3 separate regions of the Homo sapiens genome follow, and regions 2 and 3 are each linked to region 1. Evidence: promoter capture Hi-C in human tissues and cell types (Jung and others, 2019). All regions are on one chromosome and are shown on one strand. Each heading gives the region's core, a stretch centred on a gene start or on the middle of the fragment in contact. The rest is flanking DNA. Distances are from core to core; before and after follow the strand shown.

Region 1 (4,763 bases), core at 1,255-3,754:
TCAACTTGACCAGATTAAGAAATACCTAGAGGGCTTGTAATCCCAGCACTTTGGGAGGCCGAGGCGGGAGGATCACCTAAAGTCGGGAGTTTGAGACCAGCCTGACCAACATGGAGAAACCCCATCTCTACTACAAATACAAAATTAGCCGCGCATGGTGGCACATGCCTGTAATCCCAGCTACTCGGGAAGCTAAGGCAGGAAAATCGCTTGAACCCGGGAGGCGGAGGTTGTGGTGAGCCAAGATTGCACTATTGCACTCCAGCCTGGGCAACAAGAGGAAACTCCATCTCAAAAAAAGAAAAAGAAAAAAAAAAGAAAAAGAAAAAGAAATACCTAGATAACTTGTAAAGCATTGCTTCTGGGTGCCTTTGAGGGTATTTCCAAAGGAGACTGGCATGTGAGTCAGTGGACTGAGTGGGGCAGATCTGCTCTCAATGTGAGCGGGCACCATCCAATTAACCAAGGACCCAGAACAAAAAAGGTGAGAAAAAATATTTCTTCCTTCTGGAGCTGAGACACTCTTCTCAGACTTCTGCTCCCAGACATCAGAACTCCAGGCCCTCCACCTTGAGACTTGAAGATTTCACAACTTGGACTGAGCCAGCTACCAGCATTCCAGGGTCTCCTGCTTGCAGATGGCCTGTCATGGGTCTTTTCAGTCTCCATAATTTCCTGAGCCAATTCCCTAATAAATCTCCTCATAGATCTGTATCTATATCTATCTGTTATCTATCCTATTGGTTCTGTCTCTGGAGAACCCTAACACAGGGACTGAATAAATAAACAGGTAAATGACTTTGATACCTTACAATTATTATTAAATGTAGTGGAGTTTTACAAAGAAACAAAACTTGTACCCACAATTAATAAACATTCACAGAGTATTTTGACTTTTTCTTAAAAAAAAAAACCCTGGAAAATCATCTGCTTTCCAAATTAATGATATCTACGACAATCTAAATGGAATGTAAATCAATACACTTATGAGGTTTTGTTTTGTTTTTGTAAAAAGGCCTTGCTCTGTCGCCCAGGCTGGAGTGCAGTAGTGCAATCAGGGCTCACTTCAAGCTTGACCTTCCAGGCCCAAGTGATCCTCCCACCTCAGCCTTTCAAGTAGCTGAGACTACAGGCATGTGCCACCATGCCAGGCTAATTTTTTTCATTTTTGTAGAGATGAGGATTCTCCTTATGCTGCCCAGACTGGTCCGGAACTCCTGGGCTCAAGTGATCCTCTTGCCTCTGATTCCCAAAGTGCTGGCATTACAGGCATGAGCCACCACGCCCAGTGTGTGTGTGTGTGTGTGTGTGTGTGTTTGTGTGTGTGTCTCCGTGTGCGCTCGGGTGATCCTCCCGCCTCGGCCTCCCAAAGCGCTGGGATTACAGGCATGAGACACTGCGCCCGGCCAATACACTCATGATTTTAATTATAATATTTATGCCAATGAAAACACTAGCAAAAAGGTAAAACAGCTGCCAATTTAATGTGACCACTTAGTCTAAACAGGCTAGTAGAAATGAAGAACTTTTAACCTGCAAATGCAACAAAAAGCCAGAAATGAATGGGAAGACATTATGATCTCCAGAAAAGTTTGGCTAAATTTTCCCCAGCCCATTGTCTTAGCGGGGTAGGGAATTGCAGACAGCCCTTAAATACTGTCATTTTTGGTTGAGAACTCATGTGGAAAGTCCTCAAAGCCAAATTCCAACTCCTGTTTTACTGTTTTTTACCCTCGAGCTTGCTGAGTTGTCTTGGCTCTCCTGGAAAATACATGGCTCAAAAAATAAAATAGAAGTTTTAGCGGTGTGAATCTAGTAGTCGACTACAGGGGGTATTAAAAATAAACACTCCATCCCGGTTAACACGTGAAACCGCGTCGCTACTAAAAATACAAAAAAAATTAGCCGGGCGTGGTGGCGGGTGCCTGTAGTCCCAGCTACTTGGGAGGCTGAGGCAGGAGAATGGCATGAACCCGGGAGGCGGAGCTTGCAGTGAGCCGAGATCATGCCACTGCACTCAAGCCTGGGCGACAGTGCGAGACTCCGTCTCAAAATAAATAAATAAATTAATTAATTAATTAAAAAATTAAAACCACCACCAGAGCAAAAACTTACAGCGCTTACAATACCTTCCACGTGCTGTTTTATTTTACATAAAACCATGACGATTAAAAAGCTGGCCTCTCAGCTTTCCGGGTATTGGTTTGTTTTCCCCCTAAACTGTCGTTTTTATAGGCACTTGCACTGTCTTCTTAGCAGAATTGCCAATGGCCTTCCTCGAGTCCTACGTTTAGCGATTGGCAAGAATCATGCACTGACAGAGCTCGACTCCGGAGGGCACAAGGAAGTAGACAACAAAGCAGGAAGAAGCAGGAGGCGCACAGATGGGCGGGATCTGCACTGGAGGCGGTGCGACCTTGCGGGGCGGTGCAAGCTGGCGGAACCCGCGTGAGAGAGGTTGGTGTTGCGAAGGGAACTAGTCCGGTGCAGGACGTGGGGCTTTTGCAGCTCAGCTGGTTCCGGCTGGGGAAGATGGCGGTGGCTGGGGCGGTGTCCGGGGAGCCGCTGGTGCACTGGTGCACCCAGCAGTTGCGGAAGACTTTCGGCCTGGATGTCAGCGAGGAGATCATTCAGTGAGAACAGTTCGGGTCCAAGCGGGGAAGGAGCTCTGGGATGTGCACTGCCTGAGCGAACCGGGAAGCGGGGAGGACTGAAAAGTTAAGAGAGAAATGTGATAAAGGGGCTGCAGTCTGTAGTCTGTAGGCGTCGAATTTTGGCCTCCACCTTTGTAGTTTAGTTTCTGGAATAGGGTGTCCGGCTCCACAGTCTGCCGGTCGGGCTTTTTTCCTGGGAAGACGCCCAATCTGTAATAATTAGAAATGCAAGGCTGTCCCAGGAGCCAGTTTCCTTTCTAGAGAGAAGGGGCAGGTCAAACTGTATTTCCTAACTTTGAACCCCTTACTCTTTTATTTATTTATTATTATTGTTGTTATTATTGAGACGGAGTCTCTGTCGCCCAGGCTGGCGTGCGGTGGCGCGATCTTGGCTCACTGCAACCTCCGCCTTCCGGGTTCAGGTGATTCACCTGCCTGAGCCTCCCAAGTAGCTGGGATTACAGGCACGCACCACCACACCCGGCTAATTTTTAAAAATTTTTAGTAGAGTCAGTGTTTCACCATGTTGGCCAGGCTAGTCTCCAGCTCCTGATCTCAAGTGATCCGCCCGCCTCGACCTCCCAAAGTGCTGGGATTACAGGCATGAGCCACCGCACCCAGATATACTCTGAACATTTTAGTCGGCCCAATCTGAGTTGTGTCAGTAGAGCCAACAGGGTCAGCTGTGTCAATAGGACCTAGAATTTAAGTGGAAGCAGCGTGGTAGAGTACAAATAGCTTCTGACTCTGGAGTCTCAGGTTCTATATTCTGTTGTCGTTTACCTGTTTTAGAACCCAGGACAACTTAATTTTTCTCTCTGTACCCTGGTTTCTTCATTTATAAGATTAATCATTAGTAGAGCTTATCATGCTTTATGACTCCTATGAAATGGAGATGGTGTACATGACTTAATATCTACTTTCAACTGATTGAAGAACATTTGTTGCGCTGCTGTTACACGCCAGGTGCTGGGGTAACAAAGACAAGACAGTTGGGTTCCCCTTCGTTGATGAGTGCTGAGGTTGGGGAAATGAAGGGGCTTGTTGGAGCACAAAATAAAGGATTCTCATTAAGATTTGAAAAACTCGGAAGGTTTATTGGAAAGGATAACTTTCACCCGAGAACTAAGGAATAGACAGAGGTGGCGGTCCAAAGTGTTCAGGCAGGGGAGAAAACTACAAAAATGGGACTTGATCGAAGAACTGAAAGTGTTCCTTCATTTGATTCCTTGGTCACTGATGTTGAAACCTAAATTGCTGTTCTAGGGCTTTTGTAGGAAGTAAGATGAGTTTCTGAGTTTCGGAGAAAATAGACTTTTGGCAAGGAGACAGTTCAAGTAGGTTATTTTAATGGATTTTTTTGAGGCCCTAGGAGATGGCTCAAGCCCTTATTCCCAGCACTTTGGGAGGTAGAGGTGGGAGGATTGCTTGAGACTGGGAGTTGGAGACCACCCTGGGCAACATAGTGAGACCCTGTCTCTACAGAAATAAAAAAAGTAAACAACAAGATAAAGGATTTTTTTTAACACTAGAATAGACAACAAAACAAAACAGCGAAATCTTATGGTTTGGCTTTACCCTTGCTTGAACGCAGTCAGATTAAGTATTTAGTAGTTTTCAAACATTTTTTAAAGCAGTGGAATGCTATCAAATGAAATAATGAAACTTTGCAATATATAAAACAGAAAAGTGTTTTTTACGAATATAAGTTCAAAATTTTCACTTTTTTTTTTTTTTTTTTTTGAGACAGATTCTGTTGCCCAGGCTGGAGTGCAGTGGTGCGATCTCAGCTCGCTGCAACCTCCGCCTCCCACGTTCAAGCGATTCTCTTTCCTCAGCCCGAGCAGCTGGGATTACAGGCGCGCACCACCATGCCTGGCTAATTTTTGTATTCTTACTAGAGATGGGGTTTCACCATGTTGACCAGGGTGGTCTCGAACTCCTGACCTCAGATGATCCAACCGCCTCAGCCTCCCAAAGTGCTGGGATTACAGGCATGAGCCACCACGCCTGGCCCAATTTTCACATATTTATTGTAAATATGTGTAATATATTAAATATCAAATATATTAAATATTAAATATATCAAATATTATATTAAATATATTA
Region 2 (4,763 bases), core at 1,486-3,985, 800 kb after region 1:
TTCATAGGCCAAGGAAACGTTGTGTTTCAGTTAGAGCTTAGTGAAAATAAAGTTCACAGAATCTCTGAATTCTATTCAAGGACCCTTTGGAGGCCTGTAAACCCCAGGTGAAGCTCTGAAAGCCAAAAAAGAGAAGTGTTTCTGTAAAGTATATTTCACCAGATTACCTGGCAGCAACCAGAAAAGACAATTTAAGTTTCACTATTTACAGAACTTTATCATACAGACAAAGCTTTCTAAATTTCAGAACAACTGTTTTTAAAAAGAAATACTAGTCCGGGTGCGGTGGCTCAAGCCTGTAATCCTAGCACTTTGGGAGGCCAAGGCGGGTGATCTCCTGGGGTCCAGGAGTTGGAGTCCAGCCTGACGAACATGGCAAAATCCCGTCTCTACTAAAAATATAAAAATTAGTGGGGCGTGGTGGCGCGCGCCTGTAACCCCAGCTTACTCAGGAGGCTGAGGCAGAAGAATTGCTTGAACCCAGGAGACGGAGGTTGCAGTGAGCCGAGATCGCGCTACTGCACTCCAGCCCGGGCAACTTAGCAGATTCCATCAAGACAGACACACAAAAAGAGGCCAGGCGCGGTGGCTCACGCCTGTAATCCCAGCACTTTGGGAGGCCGAGGCGGACGGATCACAAGATCAGGAGATCGAGACCATCCTGGCTAACACGGTGAAACCCCGTCTCTACTAAAAATACAAAAATTAGCCAGGCGTGGTGGCGGGCGCCTGCAGTCCCAGCTACTCGGGAGGCTGAGGCAGGAGAATGGCGTGAACCCAGGAGGCGGAGTTTGCAGTAAACTGAGATCTGGCCACTGCACTCCAGCCTGAGCGACAGAGCGAGACTCTGTCTCAAAAAAAAAAAAAAAAAAAAAAGAAAGAAAATAAGACAGACAGAAAGACAGATAGTAGATGGAAAGAAAGACAGAAAGGAAAGAAAGACAGGAAGGAAGGAAAGGAAGGAAGGAAGGAAGGAGAAAAGAAAAGAAAAAGAAAGAAAACAGTCGTTTTGAAAAGAAAAAAAAATAACTGCCTATCTCCTATGATTCAAAAATGTTCACGGACTCTTGGCTACAAGAGATCAGTAACACTTTCAAAGAAGCCGTCCCTGACCAAAGGGAACACACACATACTTCATCCACCCACTGGAAACTGTATTATTCTTTGTCTACTCCACTAGATTTAAACATGAGGGTGAGGACTTATTCACCACTCTACCTCCAGCACTAAAAGAAGGCCTGACACACAGTGGACCCTTGACAAATATTAATATATATCAGATAAATGGATTAAAATATGTCACTTTAAAGTGTTTGCAAATCGAATTCCTGGAATCGGGACATCTACTGGTTGAGGCTTAACATCGATTTAGGATTAAATTTACTCCCTTACATTTATATATCATTTTACAAAATGCTTCTGCCCACGTTACCTCATTCAATCCTTCCTTCTGTAGTAAAGAAACTGGAAGATATATTTAGTAAACAATAAGGATTTTATAATTGGCTTAGAAGTTAGATAAAAGGGGCCTTTTTAAAAATCCATCCAAGGGTCATAAACCGATAAGCCAAAATAAAACGAATTTGTCTAGAAGTCAGTCATTATAACAGGATCTAGCCTCGTGGTCTGACTTCCACAGATTTGAGGAAGAGAAAAAAAGTTTATTTTCCAGACTCTCTTGGCTGGGGCGCCATTCTTTCACAGCTTCAGATAAACAGAAAGAAAAGGTAAACAACATGCGCCACTCTTAGGAAACTACCTCCCGGTCAAGTTGGGAAAGCCAGCAAAGGACTGCTGAAACACCCAAGTACTTCCGAACCAACTCCTGCGGGACTTCTCCCCATCTCTCCCGCCGCTGTCCTGCGGGCCCCGGGGCTTGCCTGACGCCGGGAAGTATTGTGAACCTTGTTTATGTCCCAGTGTCAGGGCCGCACAGTGATAGTAACATCTCGGGTATCGCGCGGCTTGCGTCCGGGACGGCCAGCTGGGTGCCCCGAGTCCTGGGGGACCCTAGTAGGGACAGATCCTCAGCCGAGCCCCTCCTGGAGCCCCCAACGGGCCCGAGGGGGATCCCGGCCAGGCTGCGGAAGAAGAGCCGCAGCCATGGCAGGCGGCGGTCCCCGGCAGGGCTGAGTGGGATCTGGAGACATTTTTTAATAACAGGAGCATTTTGTGCCTTTCAGGGTTTCTACAAAGTGGCCGCATTCCGGCCCCAAAGTCAGCAGGCCTGAAAGCGTGCAGGCAGGCGCGTGGGAAGGAGTTTACTTCCAATTTGAGCAACGGCTGCTCCAGAGGTTGGCAGAGCCCCATTCCACGGGGAAAGTGGTGGGTGCCGGGCGAAGCGCCGCGCATTCCCTCACACTCCCCGGGTGCAGCAGGCCTCGTGCCCTCCCCGGGGCCCCCAACCATTGGCCAGTCCACCCCCCCCCCGACAGGCTGAGGGCTCAGGAGTGGCACTATTTCGTTACCTCTCTGCGCGGAGGCGAGTGAGGAGGTGATGAGCCGGACGGCCGCCGCGCCGCAAGTACAAGCACCGCAGCTGGGCATCTCCGCGAGGCCTAGGCCGGGGCTTCGCCCCCTGAGGACCTCCGGGTCACAGCGGCGTGAATCCTGCCCGCAAGGCGCGCTGACTCGGTTCCGAACCCTTTCGCGGGCCCTAGACCCCGTGGAGAGTTCACCTGCCCGGCAGCCAGGCCTTCACGCTTCTCTGCCCCACAGCCGTCTATTCACCAGAGTAGACACCCAACCCCCCCCTCCCTTCCCCTCCTTCTCCTTCTACCCCCACCCCCAGCCTACTGGGCCCGGGGAGCTTGCGCGCGCCTGCGCCCTAGGCCCGGGGAGGGGGCGGAGGGCGTGGGCACGCGCCGTGTTTGCGAGCTGGTGAAGCTACGTGAGGCGAAGGCGAGGGGGTGGTGCCCTGGGCGCCAATGAGTTCCCTACGGCAAGCGTCTAGCCCCAACTGGGGCGACTACAGGTCCCGACGCTCAAGGTTGCCAAAAGCCCTTTTATCCTAAAGTTGAAAGGTTTTGCGATAGACGCGGAGAGATGCATGCCGGGACTTGTAGTCCCGAGTCGTCATAGTCGAGCTCTTCCGGTCACTTTTAGTGGGCGGCAGGGAAGGTCAAGGTGAGGCTGGTGGCTTAACCCTCCAGGGGGAAGTCTCTAAAGTGCCTTGGTAGGCGCTGGATGCTTCAGATTCACTAAATTTCTTCCCCCGGAATTCCACATCCTGTGTTCCTTATCTTCTCATTCTCCTTAGTTTCATCACTTGTAACATGGAGTTGGTATTGTCAGTTAGTTCCCTGAGCAGCAATTGTTAGTTGGTAACAGCTCCGTCTCCTTGTTCTTTCAGGCCTCGTGGTGATAAAGCTTCTAGCTGTTGCTAGTCCGTGGGTGCTTTAAAGTCTTGAGGGTTTTCTTTTCTTTCTTTCTTTTTTTTAATTTAGTAAAGATGAGGTCTCCCTATGTTGCCCAGGCTGGTCTCAAACTCCTGGGCTCAAGTGATCCTCTCGCCTCGCCCTCCCAAAGTGCTGGGATTACAGGCGTGAGCCACCGCACCCGGCCGTGATTAAGGATGGCACTGCATAGATAACCTCTGGTCAGGTTCCTATCAGGCCATCCTCTCAAGTTATGAATTCAAAAGCACAGAGCCGGCTGGGCGTGGTGGCTCACACCTGTAATCCCAGCACTTTGGGAGGCCGAGGCAGGTGGATCACGAGGTCAGGAGTTTGCGACCAGCCTGACCCACATGGTGAAACCCCATCTCTACTAAAAATACAAAAATTAGGTAGGTGTGGTGGCGTACTCCTGTAATCCCAGCTACTCAGGAGGCTGAGGTGGGAGAATTGCTTGAACCCAGGAGGCGAAGGTTGCAGTGAGCCGATATCGTGCCATTGCACTCCAGCCTGGGCGACAGAGCGAGACTCCGTCTCAAAAAAAAAAAAAAAAAACCCAGAGCCATCTGAGATTATCCCTGTGAGAAAATGGATCCTTCACCAGGAAAGTGATGGCAAATACTTGTGGTCACATCAGCCCTTCCACATCACACCTACTTTCAGCTGTTTTCTGACAGATTAATGACGCTTTAAAAAGAAAGTCAAGTGCAGTTTTCCAGCTCAAATAGTTTACACTGGAGGAGTTAACTCCTTGAGTTATTTACTTTTTGCGAACTACATAGCTGAAGGCACATAACTTTTTTTTTGAGACAGAGTCTCCATCTGTCACCCAGGCTGAAGTGCAGTGGCACCATCTCAGCTCACTGCAACCTCTGCCTCCTGGGTTCAAGTGATTCTCCTGCCTCAGCCTCCTGAGTAGCTGGGATTACAGGCATGCGTCACCATGCCCGGTTAATTTTTGTATTTTTAGTAGAGGCAGAGTTTCACTATGTTGGCCGTGTTAGTTTCAAACCCCTGACCTCAAGTGATCCGCCTGCCTCAGCCTCCCAAAGTGCTGGGATTACAGGCATGAGCCATTGCACCCAGTCAGGCACATAACTTTTTATGTCTTCATTTTATGTAAAACTTTTTCTTTTGTCTTTTTTTTTTTTTTTTTTTTGAGATGGAGTCTCACTCTGTGGCCAGGCTGGAGCGCAGTGGTGCGATCCTGGCTCACTGTAACCTCTGGCTCCTCGGTTCAAGCGATTCTCCTACCTCAGCCTCCTGAGTAGCTGGGACTACAGGCGCACACCACCACGCCCAGCTAGTTTTTGTATTTTTAGTAGAGACGGGGTTTCACCATGTTGGCCAGGATGGTTTTGATCTATT
Region 3 (4,763 bases), core at 1,299-3,798, 580 kb after region 1:
CATTTACATTAAATCCACAGACAACATTTGTGCTTATAAAGGTGGTATCATCTGTGGTGGGGCCAGAAAAGTCATCAGTGAGGAACCACAACTTAGGTGAGAGACCATGAACTGGGCTTCTCAGGAGGTTGTGGCATTTTTCTATTCTGGAAACCTGGGTACAAACCAATGAAACCCGGCCTTCTACAGCCCTCAGCCTACACTGCCTACTCCAGCCAGGTGCCCATGGGCAGCAAGCCAATTCCTACTGCTCAAAGGTGACAGATATATGTTTTTGTTTTTTTTTTTTTTTTAAGATAAACCTTTAAGGGATCTTAAAAGAGATTTGAGAAATCATCTAGCCCAGCAGTTCCTAAATGCAAGCCAACAGACCTGGTTCATCAGATTTACCTGGTGGGTAGAGGAAAAGTGTGAAGTAAAAATAGATTCCCAGATCCCATGCCCAGGGATTCCAGATGGATGATCTGCTGTGAGGCCTTACAATCTGTATTTTTGAAAGCTCCCCTAAGTGATTTTGATGAATAGCTGGTGGGAAGCACTGATGTAGGCAAGCCCTTACCAGCAATAATATCTGCTCAGATGTATTACTCTGCTTAGCAAATACCTCTTACACATACTTGTGAGACAGATCTATCTTCTGGAACCAAGTAGATGTGAAAATTCCCAATACAATGTGTCCCCAACCCAATGTCATGATCCTTACCCTGTCTACCATGAAATCAATGGCATCAGCCATCATAGGGTCCACCGGGCCAGATGAAAAATTTCCAAGAACTATTTTTTTGAGCATAAATGCAGGCATCAGCCAAAAGCTGTAAAACACAAAGACCTTATAATTTAAACTTCCAAGACTACACATGGCAAATATTCATTCAACATTAAAGCTTTGTATTAGCTTGGGATCTAGAAATAAAAAGTCCTAATCCCCTCCTCCAAAGAGCTCAGCATCTAGTTTTTACACACACTTTCCCAAGCTTCCAAAGAGTTATGGCTTCATATAATTAAACTTTTATTTGAGGATTTAGGATAATTATAAGAGATATTTCAAAATACCTTTACTGAGATAGACATTCTGATGAGTCCAAGATTGTTTTTTTTCTCTAATTGGCCCTATTTCCAAGGATTAAACTATTTCTTTTGGAAAACTGAATATTAAGAGAAGTATTCTTTCCTTCTGGTTGATATTATGTTTTTATCGATTGATATTTCAAAACAGATTTCAAAATACCAATATGAAAGCTATTGCACCTCCCCAAATTTGCTACTATTAGATTCAACTTGGCTAATTCAAGGCAAATTGATATTTATAGATTTATTTTTTAAATTTATTATTGTTATTATTTTTTGAGACAGAGTCTCAGTCAGTTACCCATGCTGGAAGTACAGTGGCATGATCTCGGCTGGGTGCAACCTCTGCCTCCCGGGCTCAAGCAATTCTCATGCCTCAGCCTTTCGAGTAGCTGCGACTACAGGCACATGCCACCACGCCCGGCTAACTTCTGTATTTTTAGTAAAGATGAGCTTTTGCAATGTTGGCCAGACTGGTGGTGAACTCCTGGCCTCAAGTGATCCACCCACCTCAGCCTCCCACAGTGCTGGGATCACAGGCGTGAGCCACTCCTGGCCTCTTTTTATTTTTTAATTAAAAAATTTAAAAAAAAACTTTTAGAGACAGGGTCTCACTCTGTTGCCCAGGCTGAAGTGCAGTATTGTGATCATAGCTCACTGTAGCCTCAAACTCCTATCAAGTGATCCTTCTACCTTGGCCTCCCGAGTAGCTGGGACTACGGGCTCGTACCACCAGGCCTGACTAATTTTTTAAAAATTTACTGAGCTGGGGGAGCCGGGGCCAGGCACGGTGGCTCATGCCTGTAATCCCAGCACTTTGGGAGGCCAAGGTGGGCAGATCACGAGGTCAGGAGATTGAGACCATCCTGGCTAACACGGTGAAACCCCGTCTCCACTAAAAATACTAAAAATTAGCCGGGCTTGGTGGCGGGCGCCTGTAGTCCCAGCTACTCGGGAGGCTGAGGCAGGAGAATGGCGTGAACCCAGGAGATGGAGCTTGCAGTGAGCCAAGATCGTGCCATGGCACTCCAGCCTGGGCGACAGAGCCAGACTCCGTCTCCAAAAAAAAAAATTTACTGAGCCAGGCGCAATGGCTCATGCCTGTAATCCAGAACTTTGGGAGGCCAAGGTGGGTGATCACAAGGTCAGGAGTTCAAGACCAGCCTGGCCAAGATGGTGAAACCCCGTCTCTACTAAAAATACAAAAATTAGCCAGGGGCGGTGGCCAGCGCCTGTAATCCCAGCTACTTGGGAGGCTGAGGCAGGAGAATCACTTGAACCTGGGGGGCAGAGGCTGCAGTGAGAACGTGCCACTGCACTCCAGCCTGGGCAACAGAGCGAGACTCCCATCTCAAAAAAGAAAATTTTTTTTCTGTAGAGACAGGATCTTGCTCTGTTGCCCAGGCTGGTCTAGAACTCCTGGACTCAAGCAATGCTCTTACCTCTGCCTCCCAAAGTGCTGGGATTACAGGTGTGAGCCACTGTGACTGGTCAGATCTTTACGGATTTCTATATATGATCTTTAGTTTATATTTATTCCATTAATTTCAACTGTTAAGAGCCATCATGGAGGGCAAACACTAATTTCTGTAAACCTATGACGAAAATTACTTAGATGAGGTGCAAACTACCTTCTGATGCTTATTACCACTGGGACAGCCTTGCTGGAAGTTGAGCTTCCCTCAAAAGGACCACTAGGTCACCTTCCAGTTAACTTTCTAAGTTCTCTCCCAGCCCCATCACTTTCTTATCTTTTGAAGGTGATGAGGTCTAAGTACGCTCTGTAAGGGGTGGACCCTGTTGACTTTGCTCACTCCTGGATCCTCAGTGTGTGGCACACAGTAAGCACTCAGATATTTGACAATAAGCAGCTGATGTGCCAGAGCACAAACTGAATGGGGGCTGTCTTGGCATTCTAACAATTAGAACAGCAATAAAAATCACCAAAAATAATGAGCATTATTTAGTGCATTATCTGGACGGGAAGGATTTGTAAAGTAGCTAATGTATACAAGAAATTGTTGCATGAATGCTGAGTAATTACTAAGATAACATCAGAAAAACTAAAAAATAGCTGGGCACAGTGGCTCATGCCTGTAATCCCAGCACTTTGGGAGGCTGAGGCGGGCGGATCACGAGGTCAGGAGATCGAGACCATACTGGTGAACACGGTGAAACCCCGTCTCTACTAAAAACATAAAAAATTAGCCAGGCATGGTGGCGGGCGCCTGTAGTCCCAGCTATTCGGGAGGCTGAGGCAGGAGAATGGCGTGAACCTGGGAGGCAGAGCTTGCAGTGAGCTGAGATCGTGCCACTGCACTCCAGCCTGGGCGACAGAGCGAGACTCCATCTCAAAAACAAACAAACAAAAAAACAAACAACAACAAAAAAAACTAAAAAATATCAGAGTGCAATTTTAAGTAGATGTGAAAACGATATTTCCCTATACATTATTTGAAAACACTGATCATACAGATGTGTTTACTCACTGGGCTTTTTTTTTGAAGTAGGGTCTTGCTCTGTCACCCAGCCTGGAGTACAGAGGCACAGTTGTGGCTCACTGCAGCCTTGAACTCTTGGGCTCAAGCGATCCTCCTGCCTCAGCCTCCTGAGTAGCTAGGACTGCAGGTGCATACCATGATACCTGGCTAATTTATTATTATTGTTATTTGTAGAGATGGGGTCTCACTATGTTGCTCAGGCTGGTTTCAAACTCTTGGCCTGAAGTGATCCTCCTGTCTTGGCCTCCCAAAGTGTTGGGAGTACGGCATGAGCCATCACACCTGGCCACTGGGCTTTATTTTAAGGCTAGAGCCTCGCCTTGCCAGCAATGAAAGAAGTGCACAGTAAGCCAGCTGTATGGCATCATAGATACCTACCAATTACTTAAAATGATAAAATCAATGAAAGGATGGCTCCTAGGAAACAAGTACCCCACTGGCTGCACCCAAAGCATTTCCACCATTTTGTTTTTGGTTTGTTTTTTTTTTGAGATGGAGTTTCGCTCCTGTTGCCTAGGCTGGAGTGCAATGGCGTGATCTCGGCTCACCACAACCTCCGCATCCTGGGTTCAAGTGATTCTCCTGCCTCAGCCTCCTGAGTAGCTGGGATTATAGGCATGTGCCACCTTGCCCAGCTAATTTTGTATTTTTAGTAGACAGGGTTTCTCCACGTTGGTCAGGCTGGTCTCGAACTCCCGACCTCAGGTGATCCGGCCGCCTCGGCCTCCCAAAGTGCTGGGATTACAGGTGTGAGCCACCGCACCCAGCCTCATTTCCACCATTTCTATCTTTTGGAAGAACAGACTAATATCAAGGGTCATGATGTGCAGAACATCTGTTGACAGACCAAATGCTCTATTCTTTCCATTTGGAGAACATATCTCAAGGAAATAAATTGGAAAGGGAAAAAACCCAGTAATTTGTACAAAGATTTACTGTAGAATGTGATGAAGAATTGGGAAAAGCCAAATGCCTAATAAAACTATGTCAGTCAATACACGGAACTGTTTACACATAATAATAAGTGGGATAAACAGAACATGGTATTAGTTACATAGAAATACTGAATAAAAACAGCAAAAGTATATTAATGAATATTAAACAAAATTTAAAAATTTAAGGTAATAAAAAAAGCTGAATTTAGAGTTCATTCAATTCTTTCCTTTTGCAAAGGTAATTGTTTCTAATTTTAAA

What was found. The method cuts DNA at HindIII sites, captures the fragments that hold promoters and counts their contacts. A contact is called where the count stands out against the background at its distance.
Region 2: a contact is called between the fragment with the promoter of CLPX here and the fragment with the promoter of TRIP4 in region 1, in 1 of the 25 tissues and cell types used here (dorsolateral prefrontal cortex).
Region 3: a contact is called between a fragment that was not itself captured here and the fragment with the promoter of TRIP4 in region 1, in 1 of the 25 tissues and cell types used here (aorta).

What each region holds. Positions count from the first base shown.
Region 1 is chr15:64,385,332-64,390,094 of GRCh38, forward strand. It overlaps TRIP4 (thyroid hormone receptor interactor 4), which reads left to right and starts at 2,505. Exons shown (of 13, transcript NM_016213.5): 1 at 2,505-2,633. The coding sequence starts at 2,533. It also overlaps a transcript of PCLAF not described here. RefSeq lists enhancers at 2,220-2,720, 2,302-2,791, 2,721-3,221. The HindIII fragment of the contact is 11,205 bases long and covers 1-4,763 here.
Region 2 is chr15:65,182,607-65,187,369 of GRCh38, forward strand. It overlaps CLPX (caseinolytic mitochondrial matrix peptidase chaperone subunit X), which reads right to left and starts at 2,736. Exons shown (of 14, transcript NM_006660.5): 1 at 2,469-2,736. The coding sequence starts at 2,547. RefSeq lists an enhancer at 2,369-3,253 and a silencer at 2,675-2,984. The HindIII fragment of the contact is 6,593 bases long and covers 1-4,214 here.
Region 3 is chr15:64,969,411-64,974,173 of GRCh38, forward strand. It overlaps SPG21 (SPG21 abhydrolase domain containing, maspardin), which reads right to left. Exons shown (of 9, transcript NM_016630.7): 6 at 704-812. Among named protein-coding and RNA genes, the nearest start is that of SPG21, 18 kb to the right of the region's middle. The HindIII fragment of the contact is 8,694 bases long and covers 1-4,763 here.